Regions from separate parts of the Homo sapiens genome. Here region 2 is linked to region 1. Evidence: promoter capture Hi-C in 16 types of primary human blood cells and fetal thymus (Javierre and others, 2016). All regions are on one chromosome and are shown on one strand. The core of a region is centred on a gene start or on the middle of the fragment in contact, and the rest is flanking DNA. Distances in the headings are between cores, read along the strand shown. Region 1 holds the start of SRP19 (signal recognition particle 19). Region 2 overlaps ARRDC3-AS1 (ARRDC3 antisense RNA 1).

The links. The method cuts DNA at HindIII sites, captures the fragments that hold promoters and counts their contacts. A CHiCAGO score of 5 or more calls a contact.
Region 2: a fragment that was not itself captured here is called in contact with the fragment with the promoter of SRP19 in region 1 in 1 of 17 cell types (fetal thymus); the score reaches 8.6 in fetal thymus.

Annotation. Positions count from the first base shown.
Region 1 is chr5:112,857,560-112,864,126 of GRCh38, forward strand. SRP19 (signal recognition particle 19) reads left to right here and starts at 3,728. Exons shown (of 5, transcript NM_003135.3): 1 at 3,728-3,858; 2 at 4,949-5,024. The coding sequence starts at 3,818. RefSeq lists enhancers at 3,493-3,787, 3,546-3,625, 3,726-4,025. The HindIII fragment of the contact is 2,166 bases long and covers 3,577-5,742 here.
Region 2 is chr5:91,381,703-91,388,269 of GRCh38, forward strand. The region is part of intron 1 of ARRDC3-AS1 (ARRDC3 antisense RNA 1); the gene reads left to right. It overlaps ARRDC3 (arrestin domain containing 3), which reads right to left and starts at 1,615. Exons shown (of 8, transcript NM_020801.4): 1 at 1,111-1,615. The coding sequence starts at 1,390. RefSeq lists a silencer at 1,522-1,831 and enhancers at 1,685-2,202, 2,082-2,381. The HindIII fragment of the contact is 398 bases long and covers 2,708-3,105 here.

The DNA.
Region 1 (6,567 bases), core at 2,478-4,977:
TGTTGATGTCTGCTGACTGATCAGGATGATGGTTGCTGAAGGTTGGAGTGGTTGTGGTAATTTCTTAAAATGAGACAACAGCGAATTTTGCCACATCAACTGACTCTTCCTTTCACGATAGATTTCTCTGTAGCGTGTAATGCTGTTTGGTAGTATTTTACCTATAGTAGAACTTCTTTAAAAACTGGAGTCAGTCCTCTCACACCCTGCCACTGCTGTATCAACTAAGTTTATGCTATTCTAAACCCTTTGATGTCATTTCAACAATGATCACAGCATATTCACCAGTGGTTTTCATCTCAAGAAACCACTTTCTTTGCCCATTCATAAGAAGCAACTCCTCATCATTCAAGTTTTATCATAATTGTAACAATTCAATCCCATCTTCAGTTTCTACTTCTAATTCTAGTTTTCTTGCTATTTCCACCACATCTGCAGTTATTGCCTCCACTAATGTCTTAAAGTCCTCAAAATGATCCCAGAGTGTTGAAATCAACTTCTTCCAAATTCCTGTTCATGCATCAGCATATTTTAACCTCCAATGAATCACAAATGCTCTTAATGCCATCTAGAATAGTGAATCTTTTTTAGAAGGTTTTCAATTTATCTTGCCCAGATCCATCAGAGGAATCACTATTTGGCAGCTATAGTTTTACAAAATGTATTTCTTAATAAGAGATGAAAATAAAAATTACTATTTGATCTGTAAACTGCAGAATGGATGATGTGTTATCAGGCATGAAAACATTAATCTCCTTCTAGATCTCCATCAGAAACTTAGATGTCTAGAGGTCTAGGTGCATTGTCAATGAGCAGTAATATTTTGAAAGGAATCTCTTTTTTTTTTCTCTGAGTAGTTGTTTTCAACAGTGGGCTTAAAAATATTCAGTAAAGGCTGGGTGCAGTGGCTCACGCCTGTAATCCCAGTACTTTGGGAGGCTGAGGCAAGAGGATTGCTTGACCCCATGAGTTCAAGACCAGCCCGGGCAACATAGCAAGACCTTGTCTCCACTAAAAATAAAAATAAAAATCAGCCAGGCATGGTGGCATGAGCCCATAGTCCCAGCTACTCAGGAGGCTTGTGTAGGAGGATTGCTTGAGTGTGGGAGGTCAAGGCTGCAGTGAGATGTGATAGGGCCACTGCATGCCAGCCTGGGTGACAGAGCGAGACTGTCTCAAAAAAATAGTTCAGTAAACCATGCTGTAAACAGATGTACTGTCATCCAGGCTTTGTTGTTCCATTTAGAGAACACAGGCAGAGTTGATTTAGCATCATTCTAGGGTCTCTAGGATTTTCTGCATGGTAAATGTCCATTGGCTTTAACTTAAAATCACCAACTGCATTGTTCCCTAACAAGATAATCAGCCTGTCCTTGGCAGCTTTGAAGCCAGGCATTGACTTCTTCTCTCAAAGAGACAAGGATTTTGGGTGCTACATCCTAGATGGCATCTTTTTCCAATAGAAGGCTGTTTTGTCTACATTGAAAAACCTGTTGTTTAGTGTAGCCACTAAATGGGGCAGCTCTGAAGCCAGACATTGACTTCTCTCAAAGGGACAAGGATTTTGGGTGCTACATCCTAGATGGTATCTTTTTCCAATAGAAGACTGTTTTGTCTACATTGAAAAATCTGTTGTTTAGTGTAGCCACTAAATGATACTAGCTAATCATTGATCATCGTCAATGATATTAGCTACATTTTCTGGATAACTTGCTGCAGCTTCTCTATCAGCACTTGCTGCTTCACCTTGCACTTTTATGTTATATGTTATGGAGATGGATTCTTTCTTAAACCTCCTGAACCACCCTCTACTAGCTTCCCACTTCTGAAGCTTCCTCACCTTTCTCAGCCTTCACAGAATTGAAGGGAGTTAGGGCCTTGCTCGGATTAGGCTTTGGGTTAAAGGAATGTTGTGACTGGTTTGAGCTTCTATCCAAACCCCTAAAACTTTCTCCATATCAGCAATAAGGTTGTTTTGCTTTCTGATCATTTGTGTGTTTATTGAAGTAATTTCCTTTTAATTCCTTCAAGAATTTTGTCTTTGTATTTACAACTTGGCTGTTAGGTGCCAAGAGGCCTAGCTTTCAGCCTATCTTGGCTTACATATGCCTTCCTCACTAAGCTTAATCATTTCCATCTTTTGACATGTGAGACGTGTGACTCTTCCTTTCACTTGAATACTTAGAGGCCATTGTAGGGTTACTAACTGGCCTAATTTCAACATTGTTGTGTTTCAGGGAATAGGGACTCCAGAAGAGGGAGAGAGATGGGAAATGGCCAGTTGGTCGAACAGTTAAAACATACACAACATTTATCCATTAAGTTCCCCATCTTATCTGGGCATGGTTCATGGTGCCCCAAAACATTATTATTATTTGAGACGGAGTCTTGCACTGTCGCCAGGCTGGAGTGCAGTGGTGTGATCTTGGCTCACTGCAACCTCCACCTCCTGGGTTCAAGAGATTCCCCTGCCTCCCGAGTAGCTGGGACTAAAGGCCTGTGCCACCATGCCTGGCTTATTTTTTATATTTTAGTAGAGATGGGGTTTCACCATGTTGGCCAAGATGGTGTCTATCTCCTGACCTCGTGATCCACCTGCCTCGGCCTCCCAAAGTGCTGGGATTACAGGCGTGAGCCACCGCACCCGGCCTTAAAACTATTACAATAGTAACAGCAAACATCACTGATCACCGATCACCATAACAGAAATAATGAAAAGGTTTGAAATATTGCAAAAATTACCAAATGTGACACAAAGTATACGCTGCTGGAAAAATGGCACCAAGCAACTTCTTTCAGGCGGATTTGCCAAAAACCTTCCATTTGTAAAAAGGCAGTATCTACTCGCAGCAGCAAGTGAAGTGCAATAATGAAGTATGCCTGTAGTGATGGCACATGGTATCCTTCAGAAGTTTTAAAAGGTGAATAGTTTTGTTTCGTTTTTCCTAGACGGAGTCTTGCTCTGTTACGCAGGCTGGAGTGCAGTGGTGTGATCTCAGCTCACTGCAACCTCCACCTCCTGGGTTCAAGTGATTCTCCTGTCTCAGCCTCCGAGTAGCTGGGATTACAGGCGTGTGCCACCACACTCGGCTAATTTTTGTATTTTTAGTACAGACGGGGTTTCAGCATGTTGGCCAGGCTGCTCTCCAACTCCTGACCTCATGATCCACCTGCCTCAGTCTCCCAAAGTGCTGGGATACAGGCGTGAGCCACCGCACCCGGCCTAAAAGGTGAATAGCTAAGTTTCTAACGCAGAGCACACTGAAACACAACGTCTATAACTTTGCTAGTTCTACCACTACAAAAATCCATTTTGCCAAACTGAAAGCAAGCTCTAGAGCCCAGGAACGGAGAAAAATTAAACGTAAGGAGTATTTCCTTCCCTGTCTAACATATATTTGCATCCTGAACCACACAGATTCCCCTCGTGGCACAGTCTTCGCCCCTTAACAGAGAGTAGCTAGTACCACCCATACTCGCTGAGAAACTGGAAACGAGGGAGGGTCGAAGTTAAACCCTTTTTAGTGGCGGTGCATGCGCCCCACATGGTCTTCCCGGCTTGGGAAAGGAATGAGAAGCTTTCATGATTCTCTCGCGAGAAGGGAAGTCTTCATGCCACGTCAGAGACTAGAGATCCTGGCGCCGAGCGACAGGTGCCGGAACAAACAGGCGATGAGAAATCGCGGACGCGGAACCATTTCTTGGGCAGGACTTCCGGCGGAAAAGCGGGCTGTCTCGGAAACTCAGAGCCGGGTTCCTCCCGGGTTTCTGCCGGGTTTCTCCCTGCGGCTCCTGGGTTGTTGAGACTCTTGTGAAGATGGCTTGCGCTGCCGCGCGGTCCCCGGCCGACCAGGACAGGTGGGTTCTGAGGCGGTGGGTCCTCCGAAAGGAAGGGGCTTGCTGTGGTGCTGCAGGTGCTACACCGCGCTTCTCCGCTCCGCGGCCTCCAGAATGGCCTAGCTGATCCAACTCGCTCTGTACGGGCCCCGCGCCTCTCCCTGGCAGCTCGTTTTTCTGAATCCTGCAGCAGCCACCAGGCTCTTCTCAGGGCTCCTGAAATTCCGACCATAGGTAGCCTAGTGTTTATCTGTACGCGAGACAAGGATTTTGGGTGCTACGTGGACATGATATCAAGTAATATAATCACAGTGTGAGAAATGTGTTCTTTTTAAGTATTGTTGCGTTCAGAAAGGCTCATTTGTGAAATTTTAAGGTTTTTAATACCTCGGACACTTTATATAAGAGGGCGGGCCCATTCTCAGGAACTTTTGACGGGCTGCTCTGTCTAATGTAACAGTTACCCAAGTCGTTTTGTTTCTATTCCTGTGGTTTTTTTCCATCCAAGGTAGTGGATAAAGTTTATTTTTAAATAAGTTAAAGTGAGGTAATTTAAAGAAATAACATTAAGCAAATAATAGCATAGGTGTACCAGCAATGATGACGACTACCACGGACCGAAAGAATGTATTTTTGAAAATACTTGTTATCTGTTGAGTGTAGTTGTCCAGGTTCTTGGCGTTTTGAATAAGGAATTGAACAAAACACACAAAGCAAGGCAGCGAAAGCAGATTTATTTTAAACAAAAGTACACTCCACAGGGTGGGAGCCGGCTCCAGCAAGCTACCCAAGAGCTGTTGGTTACAGAATTTTCTAGGGTTTAAATACCCTCTAGACGTTTCCCATTGACCTGTGCCAGTCTGATTGGTTGAGGGAGGGGGATCAATCAGAAAGAGGAGTAGGCCCGCGGCCAGTCTGATTAGTTGCTCGAGGGGACCACTCCGAGGTACTTTGATTTTTCAACTGCCACGCAGAAAAAGGAGGGGTTGAAAAGGGAGTACCCATCTGATATCTAGGCAGCATGAATTGGCCTTTGGTTCCCTGCCACCCGACCCTTTTCTCCTGCCTCTTACTGCTCTAGTGATACCACTTATGCTATTGTCTATGGCAGGTTTATTTGTATCTATCCTGCTTATTTAAATAATAAGAAGACCATCGCAGAGGGAAGGCGAATCCCCATAAGTAAGGTAAGCAAGATGGCTGGCACCTTGATCCTCGAGGGAATGGGGGGTGTCATCCTGGTCGGGCCACGTAATCTTGTTAGAGCCGCAGGGGGTTCTCTTCACTGCATTTATTTAGGGCTTGAGAACACAGCCAAGAATTGGGGTGCGTTCCTCAGTGTTGGTGAAACCAGAAAGGCATTAATTCATAGCTGAAGGGATATTTTTTTAACGTCTCTTAATGAGCCTTTGTTTGTAAAGGAGTGGGGGCAGAGTGTAGAGTTCACATGTTTTTAAAACAAAGGTTATGACGGTGTTTCCCTTGATATAGGAAATCAAAATTATGACATTGTACGATACATTAATAATGTTCAGAATGTAGTTGAGATTTTTTTAAGTGTGTGAAGAAGACATGCAGAAAGTTCAGCCCTGTTGAGTTTTATTAAAGTGTCATTTGTATTTTGTAATATGACAGATTTAAGACACCTAGGTTTGATGCAGTGAATTCTCCCATGATGAGTACATCTGGGTGGTAACAAGCACTCAAAAAAGAAAACACTACAAGCATCCAGGAAGATTGCTTTATGTTCCCTCTCAGTCACTGTCGCCTCCGCATATGCTCAAAAATACCAGGATGACCACCGTTATGACTTCAACACCATAGATTACTTTTGCTGCTTTTTCAGTTTTCTGTAAATGGAATTACACACTATGTAATTTTGTATCTTTTTTTCACTGAACTTTAAGCTTTTGAGATTTACCTACATATTTGAATGTAGTTGAATTTTCATTGCTCTATAACAGGGTTTGTCAATAGCAGCACCATTGCCGATTTGAGCTAGATAATTGTTGTTGGGGGTTGTTCTGTGCATTTTAAGATGTTCAGCAGTATCCCTGGCCTCTACCCACTAGATGACAGGTCAGCCCCCTCCAGCCCCCCATCCCCTAGTTGTGACAATCAAAAATGTCTCCAAGCATTGCTAGATGTCTTTTGTGTGTGGGTAGGGGTAGGGAGGCTGAGGACAGAATTTCCCTGCTCAAAACTACTGCCCTGTCTCCTCTATAGTATCGCATGGTGTGAGTATGCCAAAGTCTTTTCTACCTTCTTTTTTGTTTGTTTTTTTAAGAGACAGGGTCTGGCTCTGTCACCCAGGCTGGAGTGCGGCAGTGTAGTCTCAGCGCACTGCAGGCTCCACCTCCTGGACTCAAGCCATCCTCCAACCTCAGCCTTCTGAGTAGCTGGGACTACAGGCACATGCCACCATGTCCGGCTACTTTGGTATTTTTTTGTAGCAATGAGATTTCTCCATGTTGTCCAGGCTTGTCTCAAACTCCTGAGCTGAAGTGATCTGCTGGGATTACAGGTGTGAGCCACCACACCTGGCCCTTTCTACTCTGGATGGAAAATTGGATTATTTCTATTAATAGTTTGAGGCTATTATAAATAGATGTTTTTTAGAGAACATATTTTTGCTTTTTTGTAGAACGCATCTGGGAATGGAATTGCAGGGCCATAGAGAATGCATATATTCAGCTTTAGTAGATACTAGCAGTTTTCTAAAGTGTTTGT
Region 2 (6,567 bases), core at 1,657-4,156, about 21 Mb before region 1:
CGCCAACATCTGAACTAAATACTGCATTAAAAAGGAGAGGCACAAAAATTACATAACCAGTTTTAACATTATATTCTTCTTGGGCTAGGAATTAAGTCATCGCCACCACCTGACGCGTGTAACCAATCTGCTGAGAGCAGAACAAGCGCCCCTCCTCACCACCCCCCAGAACTGGTCCGAAACAGGATTGAACCGCTTCTAACAAAGGGTGGAAACTTAGAAAAACAAGCCTAGAGTCTCCTATATTTCCACAATGTAACCATTTAAACAATAGATTGGAAATCTCAGGACTCCTTCTCCTTTTGACAACCCTTTATCTCTCTCTTCTAACCAAAAATCAAATCCAGTGTGCCCTATACTTTTCAATTCCATTTGACTGGCATGGGTTTCATTGAATGCACGTTCCAAAGTTAGACATGATGCTCGGAAAAGAAAATTACTGATCCTAAATGGCTTCTAAACCTGACTCGATACCTATCATAATGACAGATAGTCATTCCTTTAAAATAAGGAATGCTGGGTGTAAATTTTTAAAGGAATGGTAAAGAATAGAGAAAAAACACGTGGGGTGTTGATACCATATGTCAAAATAAGCCACAGAAATCTTTTATGAAAGAACAGTCATCAATTATTTAAAGTCTTTTGCATTCCAATATTAAAAATGAAACACACCCATTAAGTCTCTTAAAAATGTTATTACATTTCTTGATCGAAGTTCAGTTTTTACATCTTAGGTTGCAAGTAAAAGGGCAAAAATCTAAGACTGCAGCTTTTACCAATTCATTTGAAAATATATTAGTAAAACGACTGAATTGGATTCAAACAGAATTTATAAGTAAGGTGCAAATGGACTACAAGTGCGTGTGGCACAGACCGAGCCGGGTACAGAGGTAGCTGAATAAGTGTAGTTTGCAGTCACTTTGCAGATGCCTGCATGCATTACGGCTTAACACACGATGAACGTCAAGGAGAATCCAAACCTTCCAACTTTGCTAACCTTTCTCAAACTGCTTAGTTATGCTAGGAGTAGAATCACGTTAATTCAGAAAACTGAAAAGGTACGTTTCCAAAGAAAATGAGTCCAATGACTTATGAATAACAAAAACTTACCTCTTTCGTGCCCAATTAAGATGTCTTTATGGTTGAAATACTCTACTTCTTCAGTGTAATTCTGTGTATAGGCAGTATTGGAGCCGGCGTTTCTAGATTCAGTCCAGCGTACTTTCGCATGTCCTCTTGCATGAATTTTAAGAGATTTTACTCTGATTTCCCCAGTAACTTCTAAATTTACCCTTCCTGAGACGGTATCCCCACTAGAATACACAGGGACATTGCTGTCATTAAGACAGTCAAAGCTTATTGTCAAACTCTTCACCTTTCCCAGCACCATGTTTATAACAAAATCTATAAAAATATAATGTAAGACAAAAAAGTCAAGATCGCATATAAAATGTGATCTTCACTTAACACTGATCGATATTTTTGCCGTGCAAAATGCTTGCAGGCCGGATCAGTGATTCTCTACAAATAGTTCATTGAGATTTCTTAAAAAGTCAGGGCAGCAGAGGCTGCTGCTCCGCGCTCCCGCTCGTCTCAGTGGTCTCCTTACAAAGACGGGCGGCTAAAAGCTGCCAGCTCACTTTAAGAGCAGCTTTGTGAAAAACAACCCCAGTGCGCAGGCGCAGGCCGCGGCTGCTGTCCGCCCTCCCTGCGCGCCCCCTCCCGCGCCGCGCCGCGCCGCGCTCGCTCCCTTGCCCGCTCGCTCCCGGGTACAGTAGGTGTAGAGCTAGGGGAAGGAGATACTGGAGCTGCTGGCCGGCTGAACCTGACTTCTCTTCATTGTGGGCTCCTATTGGTAGGCAGGCTACCGTATACCCTCGACGTGCTATCTGGAGCCCGTTACCGAGCGCACTCTACTAGAAAGATAATGGCAGAGTGGGGTGCGAGGGTACAAGGGCTGGGTGGGGAGTTTGCAAAGCCAAGTTAGGATAAACTGCAGCGACCAGCCCGAAGCGTGCGTTACCGGCACTGCAGCGTTTTACCAACTGCCTGGATGGGAGGAGGAAAAAGTGATGTGTGAAGAGAGATGGGGGAAGGGAGAAACCGGTTGGGCAAGCGGCCGATTGTTGAGCATAATCTAACGAATTTCCAAAGAAAACGTAATAAAACCGGACAAGAAATATTGTTCATAGACAAGAGCATACTTTGCTTGGATTTTTTTTTTTTAAACCAGTACTTTGTAGGCAGGTTGGAAATGAACTCAGTCGAGGTCAAAGGAACCTTAATCCTTTGAAGAGCGAGGTAGAGAAGCAAGTACAATGTAATCAATAGGCTTTGCTGTCTCCTCAACTTCTTTCTCCTACATTGCTTAATTAGCACCGAAAAACAACCAAGTTGTTTCCAGGATGACACGGGTGGGGGCTGGGGGAAGCTTGATCACTTCCTCGAAGGAAGAAAAAGTCCTTTTAAGACACCACCTACGGCTAGATTTGCAGAGTAAGACATGATTACAACTCCTGTGTCCAGAGGAATAAGAATAGAGTTCGGCCTAAAAAAGTACTACCTTATAAAAGGCATATGACATAGTGGTTTAGCTGACATATTGTTTGCAACAGAATCGGAAAATCTTTGTTAGAAATTAGTGAAGCGCATAAAATTGTTTTTAAAAAGCATGATTTGGTATATAAATAGGGATTTAACTGTGTGAAGCTTTAATTTTCGGCCGAGAGCCTTGGACCATTTAACGTAGTAATTCTCATGATACATCTTAAATATAGGTACATTTCTCTTTTTATTGTGAATGTTTGGTAAAAAATAGCAGTGCTTTCGTCACATCACACTGGGATTCAGAGCATAACAGCATAAACTCATCTAGATTACTGGCAATCAACAGAACTGCCTTACAAGAGAAATGTAGAAAGAAAAAATATGAATCTGGTGCTCTCTCTATATATATATGTATGACCAAAAATACCTTGGAAGATTTTTGGCTGTCCGTGTCTAAACGTTTTAGATTCTTTTGCGTAGTGTATATGGATAGGTTGAGCCTATGAGTCACAATAAACTAAACTTATTGGTCTTGCTGTTTTATTTCAAAAGAAACTAAGCTTTTGGGGGTTGGATTTTAGTTGACAAGGCAATATCTTGGACTCAACAGCAATATATAAAGAGTATAAATATGCAAACTAGACAATTAATGAGCAGGCCATTTATTTCAGAGTTTAGATCGCTATGCATAAAATTATAAATTTGCATATTTAAGTGGGAAAAACAGTCTTATCTTTTCCCTACCTCTTGGTTGACACCTGGTGGAAATTCTAGGTAAAGTACCTGGGGCCTTGTACTAGCTTTGATTACAGATACTACTTGTGTTTTTTCTCCACCTAGTGGTAGAAGTGGTGAATTTCCTAGAATGACAGCTTTTCCTCAGCATAAGGTCAATGATATTTAATAAGCATTCGAAAACCACTGAGCAAGGAATGGATTTAAAAGTGTAGTCCATAATGAATACATAAATTCATTGCACATTTGTGTCTACATTTATGTTAAAAATTATTAAGGGTTAGTGAACAGCTGAATTCGGATTTTTTTAGTAAAATTTATTTAATTAGAATATAACTCATTTCAGAAAAAATAAGAATTAGCTATATAAATACACCAGAATTGCATTTAATAAAAAAGAAGTCTAAGAAATTTATTTGTAGTTTGGAAAATTGTTTTAAAATATTAAATGTTTCATTCCTGTCACTGTGTAGTACATTATTCTTTGTGTTTGAAGCTTTCAGGATCTTTTGAATAGTTGTCTTTATTATTTATTTTGCTATTTTTAAAATTTTCTTTTTACTGTGTCTTCTTAAATACTTAGGTAACTGGCAAATTTCCAAGAAATTCTTACCAGCTGCCATTTTCATTATATTTTTATTTTTTGAGATGGAGTCTCACTCTGTTGCCCAGGCTGGAGTGCAGTGGCACAATCTAGGCTCTCTGCGGCCTCTGCCTCCCGGGTTCAGGCGATTCTCCTGCCTTAGCCTCCGGAGCAGCTGGGATTACAGGCACGCACCACCACCTCTGGCTACTTTTTGTATTTTTAGTAGAGACAGGGTTTCACCATGTTGGCCAGGCTGGTCTTGAACTCCTAGCCTCAAGAGATCCACCCGCCTTGGCCTCCCAAAGTGCTGGGACTATAGACATGAGCCGCTTGCGCCTGGTCTCGCTTTATCTTTTCAATTCTTAAAAACAAAAACAAAAACAAAAACGCTTGGACCAAATTTTGAATGTTTTCTCTTGTCGCTTTCATAACTTCCCCCTTTCAGATTTTTTGTCTAAATAGCTACTCCTTAGACAGCTTGAAATGCTGTACTGTAGACATTATCTTGGGCTTCTCAGCTTGCTTCACTGGGCCATTATTGTATTTTGTATTATATTTAAACTATTCGTCTTTACCATCAAGGCTCTTTCCTACTTCTCCCCAGCCTACGTCTCATATGCCATCTCCTCCTACTCATCTGCTAACTCTCTATAATCCTGTCAAGTACATCTTCTGTCCCCTTTGTTAGCTTGTCTCACTGTTGCCAGTATGCAGTTACATGTGCTTTTGGTGCCCAGAATAACATCCCACTACTATGTTATCTCCTTTGCTTTTTTCTAATCCCTCCACTAGATGCAGTTGGCACTACTGAGTAAAATTCCAACTAGACTGAATAACTAGCTTCCCTTCCCCTTTCATTGCTTCTTCAGAGCTTAAGTAGGAATCTCTTTTTATATTAGCTTTTGAGTCAAATGGCTCTTTCACCTTAATATATTAAAGTTTGAACTCAATCTCAAGAACTCTATCAAAGACTGATAAATGATCATTGCTGTCAAGTTGTATGATATTGAGGAGATATGTTAAGATTACTGCCAAGTTTGGAGTTTTTTGCATATTATATCAACATGCTCAATATTTTTATTTTTAAAAAAAAAGGAAGCCATCTCAACTGGAAGTTTTGGTGTTTGGTTGAAAAAAAAAAAAACCTACCAGTAGTCAGAATCTGTTTCATAAAGAAAAATATGAAATCTATGCTTAATCTATTTTAACTAGCAGCTGATAGGCTCGAGTGCTATGGGACTAAGGGGGATTTTTTTCCTTTGGTCTTAATTCTGTATTTCAAGATTTTGTAACTCTGACTTAACTCTTTAATATCGTCACAGTGCAGCAAATTTGGCATGCAGACTGGACAGAAGACTTGCTGTATTATTAGCAAAATGAGTAGTATTTGTTTTTTAGCTTTGAGAGCTATTACAAACATAACGCATATTATGTTTGTTATGTTCTTCATACTTAATAGACTTTTAAATATGTTATGGATTTTGTGATGAAACTCACTATCAAATTTGGATTCTGATATCCTTCATTAATAAATAGTATAATTTGTGTTATGTGAACACCATTTAATCTGTTATATTTTATTTCTTGATTAAAAGAAAATCACCCATAATTCTACTGTCCGTCCATTCAGAGACACCACTGTTAACATTTTGGTGTATTTCCATCCAGATGTACAACTAAAGAAGAGCATTGCCAGTGAAGCTATGGCAGTGCATATTATCATGTAGAAGATGAGTTGGTAAAGTTTATTCATCTAAGCTCAAATGGCATCTGGTCTACAGAAAGAATTAGGAATGCTAAATTTCTTTTCTGAACTACTTTATAAATTTTGACTTTTGACTATGCACAACTTTATATAATGAGGGTAAAATTTTATTTGCTGTAATAAAATATTTTCTGGCTGAGTGTGGTAGCTCATGCCTGTAATCCCAGAACTTGAGAGGCTAAGGTGGGAGGATTGCTTGAGTCCAGTGGTTTGAGACCAGTCTGGGCAACATAGCAAGACCCTGTCTCTACAAAAAATACAAAAATTAGCCAGGTGTGGTGGCATGTGCCTCTAGTCCCAGCTATTCAGGAAGCTGAGGTAGAAGGATCACTTGAGCCTGGAAGGTTGAGTCTGCAGTTAGCTGAGCTCGTGCCATTGCACTCCAGTCTAGGTGACAGAGTGCGACCCTGTCTCAAAAAAATTTTTTTTAAATTTTTTTTCAAACATTTGATTATTTTATTTTGAGACAGCTCTGTTGCGCAGCTGGAGTGCAGTGGCGCAATCTCAGCTCACTGCAACCTCTGCCTCCTGGATTCAAGCCGGGATTACAGGCCGTCATCACCATACTCTGCTGATTTTTGTATTTTTAGTAGAGGCAGGGTTTCACCACGTTGGCCAGGCTGGTCTTGAACTCCTGGCCTCAAGTGATCTGCCTGCCTTGGCCTCAAAAGATGCTGGGATTACAGGTGTGGGCCACCGTTCCTGGCCAACATTTTGATAATTTTATATAGGATATGTAGCTTATATAGCATAGCATATCTACTTTGAAATATTTTACTCTCCCAGGGATGAAAGGGCTGAAGAGGCCCATTAAAGTCATTAAGTCAACTCCCTGCCTTTAAGCAACCTGAGAACCCATTCTATTTTTGTTTTTATTTTCTTATTTATTTAAATTTTAACTTTCATTTTAGATTCAGAGGTACATGTGCAGGAT